Linked DNA regions of Homo sapiens: region 1 is linked to region 2. Evidence: promoter capture Hi-C in 16 types of primary human blood cells and fetal thymus (Javierre and others, 2016). All regions are on one chromosome and are shown on one strand. The core of a region is centred on a gene start or on the middle of the fragment in contact, and the rest is flanking DNA. Distances in the headings are between cores, read along the strand shown.

The links. The method cuts DNA at HindIII sites, captures the fragments that hold promoters and counts their contacts. A CHiCAGO score of 5 or more calls a contact.
Region 1: the fragment with the promoter of PCDHA9 here is called in contact with the fragment with the promoter of PCDHAC2 in region 2 in 1 of 17 cell types (neutrophils); the score reaches 7.2 in neutrophils.

What each region holds. Positions count from the first base shown.
Region 1 is chr5:140,845,552-140,850,483 of GRCh38, forward strand. It overlaps PCDHA9 (protocadherin alpha 9), which reads left to right and starts at 2,831. Exons shown (of 4, transcript NM_031857.2): 1 at 2,831-4,932. The coding sequence starts at 2,945. The region is part of intron 1 of PCDHA1 (protocadherin alpha 1); the gene reads left to right. The region is part of intron 1 of PCDHA2 (protocadherin alpha 2); the gene reads left to right. The region is part of intron 1 of PCDHA3 (protocadherin alpha 3); the gene reads left to right. It also overlaps PCDHA4, PCDHA5, PCDHA6, PCDHA7, PCDHA8 and PCDHA@. The HindIII fragment of the contact is 21,410 bases long and covers 2,113-4,932 here.
Region 2 is chr5:140,963,969-140,969,684 of GRCh38, forward strand. PCDHAC2 (protocadherin alpha subfamily C, 2) reads left to right here and starts at 2,508. Exons shown (of 4, transcript NM_018899.6): 1 at 2,508-5,363. The coding sequence starts at 2,799. All of the region lies in intron 1 of PCDHA1 (protocadherin alpha 1), which reads left to right. All of the region lies in intron 1 of PCDHA2 (protocadherin alpha 2), which reads left to right. The region is part of intron 1 of PCDHA3 (protocadherin alpha 3); the gene reads left to right. It also overlaps PCDHA4, PCDHA5, PCDHA6, PCDHA7, PCDHA8 and PCDHA9, and 6 more genes. The HindIII fragment of the contact is 2,470 bases long and covers 1,730-4,199 here.

The sequences.
Region 1 (4,932 bases), core at 1,581-4,080, 120 kb before region 2:
TTTTAGCTATTAAGAATTTCTGGGATTGAAATGTGTCAGAAGTTAGTTATTAAGTATTGTGGATTCTGAAGCTCTCTAAATCAAGTCCTCCCTTTACCAATTTTTGTATGTGTAGCCATTGGTAAAGGATTTGTTATTCAGTTCCTTGGCATTATATGTATGCATGATAAATGTGAATTCTACTTTATAGATTTATTTGTATCAAGTAAGTTAATAGTTATAAATTATTAATAATAAACTCTGGCAAGTGATAGGTACATAATAAAATTTAGTTATTACCATTCTTAAGAGAAAAGAAGTTAGTGATTGCAGAAAGGCAACCTAAAATGTCAGAAAGTCGTTATGGCCTTCCATATTAATCTTATTTTTGTGTAAAACTATCTTCTGTAAAGTCATTTTTTAGATTAACCTAGGATGTTTCAATATTTTGAATGTTGTGTGGTGGAATGAAAAAAATCTAAAAGTTATTACGAGTTTAGGAAAGTCAAGTTAACACCACCTATGTGGGAAAACAGTTTTTTGGAAAGGTTAAAGTCCTTCCAAGGAATGTGTAGACTATCTTACTTTGATAGTTGTATGTTTCCCATATTTAAAAGTTGCCTGAGATCCTGCAGAGGCCTGAGTAGGCGTTTGAGTTCTTTGTATGTATGAGATCTTTCCATTAATAGTATTTTTCTTAAAAAGAAGTATACAATAATGTTTTGATGATGATTTAAAGTCAATTTATGTTGTAGTTCTATGAATTAAGTAAACCATTTATGTAGAGTGTTGTAAATAGCCTTTTAAAGTGCTTTCTCTTTTTTCTTTTCTTTTCTTTCTTTCTTTTTTTTTTTTTTTTTTTGAGACGGAGTCTCGCTCTATCTCCCAGGCTGGAATGCAGTGGCGCAATCTCGGCTCACTGCAACCTCTGCCTCCCGGGTTCAAATGATTCTCCTTCCTCAGCCTCCCAAGTAGCTGGGATTACAGGTGCATGCCACCATGCCCTGCTAATTTTTTGTATTTTTAGTAGAGTCGGGGTTTCACCATGTTAGCCAGGATGGTCTCGATCTCCTGACCTCCTGATCCGCCCACTTCGGCCTCCTAAAGTGCTGGGATTACAGGCATGAGCCACCGCGCCCAGCCTAAAATGCTTTCTTAGCAAGTAGAGAAGATTGTAATAACCAGTCTTCATTAAACATTAAATAGGACCCTTACAGATCTCTAACAGCATATCATCATGTCAGGAATTATTACTGAGCCCCAGCCCCTGGCTTTAAAATTTGAGGTCAAATAAAGAATATGAGTCACACAATGCAAGGCAAGATAATGTAACAGGTACAAGAGGTAAATCAGAATGACGTTGAAGTTGAAAGACAATCATTTCCTATTTGAATTTTTGAAGAAATACTTGAAGGGGCATGGTGTGTTTCAGTGGTTTTAAAATAAGTAAGTTCCCCCCGGGAGAATATTGAGAATGATAGACATTTCTTGGAAAGAGAAAACATAAGGAAAGTTGAAGACACAGAAAGCATCAATATGACAAGTAGAAAAGTCCACTTTGGTTAAAACACACAGTCTGCAGAGAATGAAAGCAGGAAAACCAATGTAAGAAGATCTCTTGATTTCTGAGTAATAAACTAAAGGGCCATGAGTGATTAAGGAATTTGGCCACTCTTTAGAATTAATTGGGAGCTATTTAACTACCTTGAGCAAAATAAATCACGACTTTTGAAAGAAGGTTGAACGGGAAGACAAACTCAGAAGCTCCTGCAGTAATCAAGGACAGAAGCAATTGTTAAATGCACCTCTTAGGCTGTTATCAGTAGAAATACGAAATAAAAGATAAATATGCAAAAACATTAATGGCACAATAAACACTCACGGTTTTGCCTTTAGACTTGAGATACACTAAAATCTAGATTTAATTAATCGACTTGGACGTTGGAATAAGATAGTAAAACTCACAACAAAACTTTGTAGAACTTAGTCAGGAAAAGAATCTCAAGCATAGCTTTAAAAACAGAAATTGCCCCGAGTACTAAGGATGAGCAATAATGAAATTAAAACATATTGTAATAACATTACACAAACTATATTGGAGACTACAAAGAAGAGATTATTCATAGATTATAAAGCTTGGAAAGAATCAAAACAACACATTTCTGGAAACAGATTGTATAAATGCTACAAAAGAGAAAAATATATTTTCTCCCCACGCAACACAAGACCTTAAAGTCAATTCTCGCTTTTCTTGCAATATTTTATACCTTTTCAATTCATAGAATTACTCAAGAAAACTACCTCAGTTGGTTGCTACTTTTTGTTGATTCCTTTTACCAGACATGACTAAGTTTCTTTTTCATCAGTAGATTTCTGGGCTCCTATATTCACTAGAGATTGCAACTCCTGGATTTCTCTTACACTAGAATCCTATTTCGAGCCATATGGGAGATTCTGAATTCCAGAACAAAAGAATTTTGTAATTTAAAATTCGTGATTGCTCAATGGAATCATTTTAATTGTTACTTCATTTCTGTCGTTATTTAAAACTTAAGTGGAGAGTTTTCTCAGGGATAAGAAAACCACAATCAAGGTCATACAAAACTTTTAGAGGCAGTCAGTCTGCTAAGAAGGCTCCAGCAAGAGAAACGGGATCTTCTGTTTCAACAATCATTACTTAAGAAAAAATTAAGAAAATGAAATAAGTTTTGCAGAATAACTGTGAAATTTTTATTCATGAAATATGTACTTACACTTTGGGCCACGTGATGTCACTCTTTGCCGCGATGTTCTCTCTGAATCCAGACAAATACAGCCCTTTTCCCATGGGAAAGAGGCTCAATTCTTTTTCACTCTCTCTGTGCTGAACGATGGCGAACACAGCAGAATGGGACTGACGAAATCAGATGATTTCTTCTAATTTGGAGGCAATTTTCACTAATTAGAAGAAGACTGAGTATTTGAAATGTTATACTCAAGTCGAGGAGATCCAGAGGGTCAGCCTCTACTGCTCTCGCTTCTGATCCTCGCAATGTGGGTGGTGGGGAGCGGCCAGCTCCACTACTCCGTCCCGGAGGAAGCCGAACACGGCACCTTCGTGGGCCGCATCGCGCAGGACCTGGGGCTGGAGCTGGCGGAGCTGGTGCCGCGCCTGTTCCAGTTGGATTCCAAAGGCCGCGGGGACCTTCTGGAGGTAAATCTGCAGAATGGCATTTTGTTTGTGAATTCTCGGATCGACCGCGAGGAGCTGTGCGGGCGGAGCGCGGAGTGCAGCATCCACCTGGAGGTGATCGTAGACAGGCCGCTGCAGGTTTTCCATGTGGACGTGGAGGTGAAGGACATTAACGACAACCCTCCAGTGTTCCCAGCGACACAAAAGAATCTGTTCATCGCGGAATCCAGGCCGCTTGACTCTCGGTTTCCACTAGAGGGCGCGTCCGATGCAGATATCGGGGAGAACGCCCTGCTCACTTACAGACTGAGCCCCAATGAGTATTTCTTCCTGGACGTGCCAACCAGCAACCAGCAGGTAAAACCTCTTGGACTTGTATTACGGAAACTTTTAGACAGAGAAGAAACTCCGGAGCTTCATTTATTGCTCACGGCCACCGATGGAGGCAAACCCGAGCTGACTGGCACCGTTCAATTACTCATCACGGTACTGGACAACAATGACAATGCCCCAGTGTTCGACAGAACCCTGTATACGGTGAAATTACCAGAAAACGTTTCTATCGGAACGCTGGTGATTCACCCCAATGCCTCAGATTTAGACGAAGGCTTGAATGGGGATATTATTTACTCCTTCTCCAGTGATGTTTCTCCAGATATAAAATCCAAGTTCCACATGGACCCCTTAAGTGGGGCAATCACAGTGATAGGACATATGGATTTTGAAGAAAGTAGAGCACACAAGATCCCAGTCGAGGCTGTCGATAAAGGCTTCCCACCCCTGGCTGGTCATTGTACACTTCTTGTGGAAGTTGTGGATGTAAATGACAATGCTCCACAGTTGACTATCAAAACGCTCTCGGTTCCTGTAAAAGAGGACGCACAACTGGGGACAGTTATTGCCCTGATTAGTGTGATCGACCTAGACGCAGATGCCAACGGGCAGGTTACCTGCTCCCTGACGCCCCACGTCCCCTTCAAGCTGGTGTCCACCTACAAGAATTACTACTCGTTGGTGCTGGACAGAGCTCTGGACCGCGAGAGTGTGTCCGCCTACGAGCTGGTGGTTACCGCGCGGGACGGGGGCTCGCCTTCACTGTGGGCCACGGCCAGGGTGTCTGTGGAGGTGGCCGACGTGAACGACAACGCACCAGCGTTCGCGCAGTCCGAGTACACGGTGTTCGTGAAGGAGAACAACCCGCCGGGCTGCCACATCTTCACGGTGTCTGCGCGGGACGCTGACGCGCAGGAGAACGCCCTGGTGTCCTACTCGCTGGTGGAGCGGCGGTTGGGCGAGCGCTCGCTGTCGAGCTACGTGTCAGTGCACGCGGAGAGCGGCAAGGTGTACGCGCTGCAGCCGTTGGACCACGAGGAGCTGGAGCTGCTACAGTTCCAGGTGAGCGCGCGCGACGCGGGCGTGCCGCCTCTGGGCAGCAACGTGACGCTGCAGGTGTTCGTGCTGGACGAGAACGACAATGCGCCGGCGCTGCTGACACCTCGGATGAGGGGCACTGACGGCGCAGTGAGCGAGATGGTGCTGCGGTCGGTGGGCGCCGGCGTAGTGGTGGGGAAGGTGCGCGCAGTGGACGCCGACTCGGGCTACAACGCGTGGCTTTCATACGAGCTGCAGCCAGAAACGGCCAGCGCGAGCATCCCGTTCCGCGTGGGGCTGTACACGGGCGAGATCAGCACAACGCGTGCCCTGGACGAAACGGACGCACCGCGCCAGCGCCTACTGGTGCTGGTGAAAGACCACGGGGAGCCAGCGCTGACGGCCACGGC
Region 2 (5,716 bases), core at 1,258-3,757:
TCCAAAGTCTATATTCCTAATTACTGTGTTCTACTTTTTAATAGAGAGCTCTTGAAGGTCCAAGGAAAGGAATGCATAATGGTGTGGTCAAGGCATTAGTGTTAATATTTGTAGAAAGGGTAATTAACAACAGTCTGAGCAATCACATTCTAACAACTAGTAAGGTTGGCAGGAGCCTCAGTATAATGGTGTGAGGAACGAAATCATTATAGTGCCAAATAGAGTATACCATCTCTTTAGTACAATGTCTTTCAAAATGAGGCTGATTGTGTTGGCTTTATATTTGACTCCTTAATAATTAAGGCAGTAAATTCTAGCTGGAGCTAAATACCTACAAGGCCTAAAACAGCATAATGGACAACCTGGCAGGTGTCCTTGCTGGAAGATGACAAGAGTGCTGAAAGGAGAGTCCTGGTTTTTCTCCCAAGACATGACATTTGGGGGCTTCCATTAAAAAATTACCAAGCCTCTGCCACTGTAATCTCTTCCTTAAGTGCCTATGATTTTTTCACAGTCACAGGTCTATGCCTGGTCAATACCCAGTGGCCAGGTCTCTGAGCTGCGTGCAGAGATGGCAGCGACTTGGAGGGCTGGGAGGAGATAAGGGGAGGAAAGATCACTTTTCATGACAACTTACAACTTGATTCCACTTATAAGCCATTTATTTTCAGAAACAAGTAATGGGTGAGGACACAGGCCAGGTCCACAATTTGTGCACTTGAGAGATTAAGGCCTCCGAGATCAAATTACCACAGCAAACTGAGACAGAATTATTGTAGGGATGTTTGGGGAGGATGCAGAGAGAAGAGGAAGAAGCCAGAGACCCAAGAAAGGAGACAGGAATAGATTTTGATGAAAATTGCTTCCTACTCTGTACCCTTGAGGAAACAAAGAGGACAAATAAGAAGCAGCAGTGATAGGAGGCTGGGCGCTTCTCTGGAATAACACTGGCTAGGTAGTGGAGCATTGATAGTGAGTGTGCTTGGTTGGTGGAACGAAGGGATGTGCTAGTTCAGGCCTTTGAATTCTGGGTGTCAGGATCACAACCTTGGCTCCTTTAACTGTCCGCTCTAGGAGGGAAGCATGCCAAATGTCAGGTCTCACTCTGACTTTGTTCCAGTCCATAGCTAGAAAATGACCCATAGAGGAAGATCTACAGATGACAGAATACTGGGAGATGAAGAGAAAGGACGTTTTAGTGAGTGCTTTTTTTGCACATGAGGCAATAGATTTCAAATTCCTGTGGAAGAAATGTGAGAACCTGGGAAGAGTGAATATTCAGAACTGAGCAGCAGAGGCAATGACACAGCATGGAAAGATTTCCTCTGATCCTTCTACCTTCTCTTTTACTGAAGTGAATTTGTTGTCTCTGTGTTGCCTCTATAGCAGTACAAGAGGAAACTTGGGGACACAGAAGAACAGAAGTCTAAGGAGTCTTATATTTAAGGAAGATAAGCTGCAGTCATTGAAATTGCTGGTTATTGTAAGATAAATCCCAGACTCCCACATTTTGCTTAATGACAGCAGATTTTTTTTTTTTTTTAACTGCAAAGCATTAATGGAATCCAAATTCCAGCCTGGCTTAGGAGATCAACAGTAACGCTCTTGATTTAATGGTTTTGCAGACTCTTGAAGACATTGTCATCCATTAAAGAAAAAATTTTAAATTACTCTTGAAAGAAAATGTCTTGGGTGATAAATGTAAAAGATTTGAAGCAAGATTAGAAAAAGCTTGAGAGAAGAATCTCTTTAAAAATTTTACCAGATTTTCCCCATTGTCGCCAAAATGGGTCAAATAATAGATTTGCCTACAGCTTCATGGAGACTATTTTTTTAAACAGAGCATTTTAAACATTTAAATATTGGTTATTTGCCAAGGCACACACTGAAAATAAGGGCCACTTGGCCGAGAGCAGAATTGAGTCTTGGATCCCAGGATGCTGGTTTTAGGCTTGCTCCCGGAAAGAGGGCAGCATTTGCCATCCCCCTCCTTTTGCCCTAGGAGTTGAGCACTTTCTGCAGTACTTAAGAGTGTCCAGGGAAGATGTGGGAGTCAGGTGAATAGTTCCCATCGCCAGTAACCCCAGAGCGCCTCCCCCTGCGTTGTTTCCTTTTAATGTTAGATCCGCCGCCTGGGTGCCCATACTTAGCTAAGGCCCCTCAGTTTATTTTCCTGAATTGCGCTTGGAGATCTTTTCCTGGGGAGCTGATAGCCAGACTTCTAGGGGCTTGACTGCTTTTCCCAGACTAATCTCCTTAAAGACCCGTTAAGCAGGGGAGAGACGGTGGAGACTGGATGAACTGGACAGTGGGGGTAGGGAGAAAGGGAGTGGCCGTGTTCCTGCGGTCCGCTGGGATCCGGCAGGTCCAGGGTGAAGGAGATGGGGCTGGAGAGGCTGAGCAGTCCGGGTTCGCTGTCCGCCACTTCGGCGCGGAATCAGAGCAGGACTTGCTGAGCCCTCCTACCGCTCCCTTTCCCCCTCCCCCTCTGTCTTCCCTTCTGTTTCCTTTTCCCTCCCCCTGGAGCTGTAGCGGCAGCAGCAGCAGGAAGCCGAGCCGGGTTGAGCGACTCGGAGGCGAGCGGAGGAGCTGGAATATGGGGAGTCAGCGAGGACGGTGGGGCCAGGAGCCCTTGGGAGGGCCTACGGAGGGAGCGGCCCCAGGCGCTTTCTAGAGCGTGAGCGGTGGGGGAGCAGGCGCAGGGTGGCACGAGCGGAGGCGGGGCCCGGGCGTGGGGCACGGCTGGGGAAGCTGCCGCCTCCGGCCCTGCCCGGCTGCCTCCGCCGCGGCCAGTGGCTATGGAGCAGGCGGGCACCAGACCTGCGGCGACAGAGCATCCACGGCTCCGGCGGCCCATGCCCTGGCTGCTGCTACTGCCTCTCCTGCTGCTGTTGCTGCTGCTGCTACCTGGCCCTGCGGCCTCCCAGCTGCGATACTCTGTGCCAGAGGAGCAGGCACCCGGCGCGCTCGTGGGCAACGTGGCTCGCGCGCTGGGGCTTGAGCTGCGGCGCTTGGGGCCGGGTTGCTTGCGCATCAACCATCTGGGTGCGCCCAGTCCGCGCTACCTGGAGCTGGACCTGACGAGTGGAGCGCTCTTCGTCAACGAGCGCATTGATCGGGAGGCGCTGTGTGAGCAGCGGCCTCGCTGCCTGCTCAGCTTGGAAGTGCTGGCGCACAACCCCGTGGCGGTGAGCGCCGTTGAGGTGGAAATATTGGACATCAACGACAACTCACCGCGTTTCCCGCGGCCCAACTACCAGCTTCAGGTAAGCGAATCGGTGGCGCCTGGAGCGCGCTTTCACATAGAGAGTGCGCAGGACCCCGACGTGGGCGCCAACTCAGTACAGACCTACGAGCTCAGCCCCAGCGAGCACTTCGAGCTGGACCTTAAGCCCCTGCAGGAGAACAGTAAAGTGCTTGAGCTGGTGCTGCGTAAGGGCCTAGACCGGGAGCAGGCAGCCTTGCACCACCTGGTTCTCACAGCCGTGGATGGGGGCATCCCAGCCCGCTCGGGTACGGCACAGATCTCTGTGCGTGTCCTGGACACTAACGACAACTCTCCTGCCTTTGACCAGTCCACTTATCGCGTCCAGCTACGGGAGGACTCACCCCCAGGCACATTGGTGGTGAAGCTGAATGCCTCAGACCCGGATGAGGGCTCCAATGGTGAGCTCAGGTACTCCTTGAGCAGCTACACGTCGGACCGGGAGAGGCAGCTCTTCAGCATAGATGCCAGTACCGGGGAAGTGCGAGTAATTGGGGGGCTGGATTATGAGGAAGCCTCCTCCTACCAGATCTATGTGCAGGCGACTGACCGGGGTCCAGTGCCCATGGCAGGTCACTGCAAGGTGCTGGTGGACATCGTGGACGTGAATGACAATGCCCCAGAGGTGGTGCTCACGGACCTGTATAGCCCAGTGCCTGAGAATGCTACACCCAACACCATTGTGGCCGTTCTCAGTGTCAATGACCAAGACTCAGGCCCCAACCGGAAAGTGAGCCTGGGTCTGGAGGCCACACTGCCTTTCCGACTGAATGGCTTTGGAAACTCCTATACACTGGTGGTGAGCGGCCCACTGGACCGAGAGCGGGTGGCTGTCTACAACATCACGGTGACAGCCACAGATGGGGGAATACCGCAGCTCACATCCCTGCGTACACTGAAGGTTGAGATCTCTGACATCAATGACAATCCACCAAGCTTCCTGGAGGACTCCTATTCCATCTACATACAGGAGAACAATTTGCCAGGTGTGTTGCTCTGTACTGTGCAAGCCACAGACCCAGATGAAAAGGAGAATGCAGAGGTGACCTACTCCCTTCTGGAGAGGGAGATTCAAGGGCTGCCAGTCACCTCCTATGTCTCCATTAACAGTGCCAGTGGCAGCCTTTATGCTGTCAACTCCTTTGACTATGAGAAGTTTCGGGAGTTCTTTGTGACTGTGGAGGCTCAGGACAAGGGGAGCCCACCACTGAGCAGCACTGTGACTGCCAACGTATATGTGGTGGACATGAATGACCATGCCCCTCACATTCTGTACCCTACCTCAACCAACTCGTCAGCAGCCTTCGAGATGGTGCCTCGAACTGCCCCTGCTGGCTACCTGGTCACCAAAGTCATAGCTATGGACTCAGACTCTGGGCAAAATGCTTGGCTTTTTTACCATCTAGCCCAGACTTCTGACCTGGACCTCTTTAAGGTAGAGCTGCACACAGGAGAAATTAGGACTACCAGGAAGATGGGAGATGAGAGTGGTAGCACTTTCAACCTGACCGTGGTGGTCCGAGATAATGGAGAGCCATCACTATCAGCCTCTGTGGCCATTACAGTAGCTGTGGTGGATAGGGTTTCCAAAATCCTCCCTGACACTCAGAGGCATGTTAAGAGCCCTCGGACATACTCTGAAATTACCCTTTATCTAATAATAGCATTAAGCACAGTGTCTTTTATATTTCTTTTGACAATCATCATTTTGAGCATCATCAAGTGCTACCGCTACACTGCGTATGGCACTGCATGCTGTGGAGGCTTCTGTGGAGTAAGGGAAAGGTCCCCTGCAGAACTGTACAAACAAGCCAACAACAATATTGATGCCAGGATACCGCATGGCCTCAAAGTGCAGCCTCACTTCATTGAAGTTCGAGGGAATGGCTCCCTCACCAAGACCTACTGCTACAAGGCCTGTCTGACAGCAGGCTCAGGGAGTGACACTTTCATGTTTTACAATACAGGGGCCCAGACAGGACCAGGGCCTTCGGGAGCCCAAGCAGCAGTGACTGACAGCAGGAATCTCACAGGCCAAAGTGGTCAGAATGCTGGGAACCTGATTATTCTCAAAAATGAGGCTGTTTCTCAAAATGAGGTGAGACAGTGGTCAGGGGGTCTTCTACAAACTCATGCATTTGTTACACATCCCCCAATATCCTGTGATTTGGCTTTATTGAGTCATTAACAGTGACAAGAGTTATCTGGTAAACTGAGTATATATAGTATCCACAATTTGATCATAATCTGCTATTTCCTCTCTAGAAAAATAGCACTAAAGAATTGTTTTATTTTTCATTTTCAGAGGCATGAAGCCTTGTCCATAAAATTGTTTGAGAAGTGAGGATTAGTCTTAATATTTAATGCTAAAACACAGATTTGTAGAGAAACAGGACAGGCCTTGGAATAGGGATTATGTTTTAGGGAGTAATGTTATGAGACTCAAGGAGA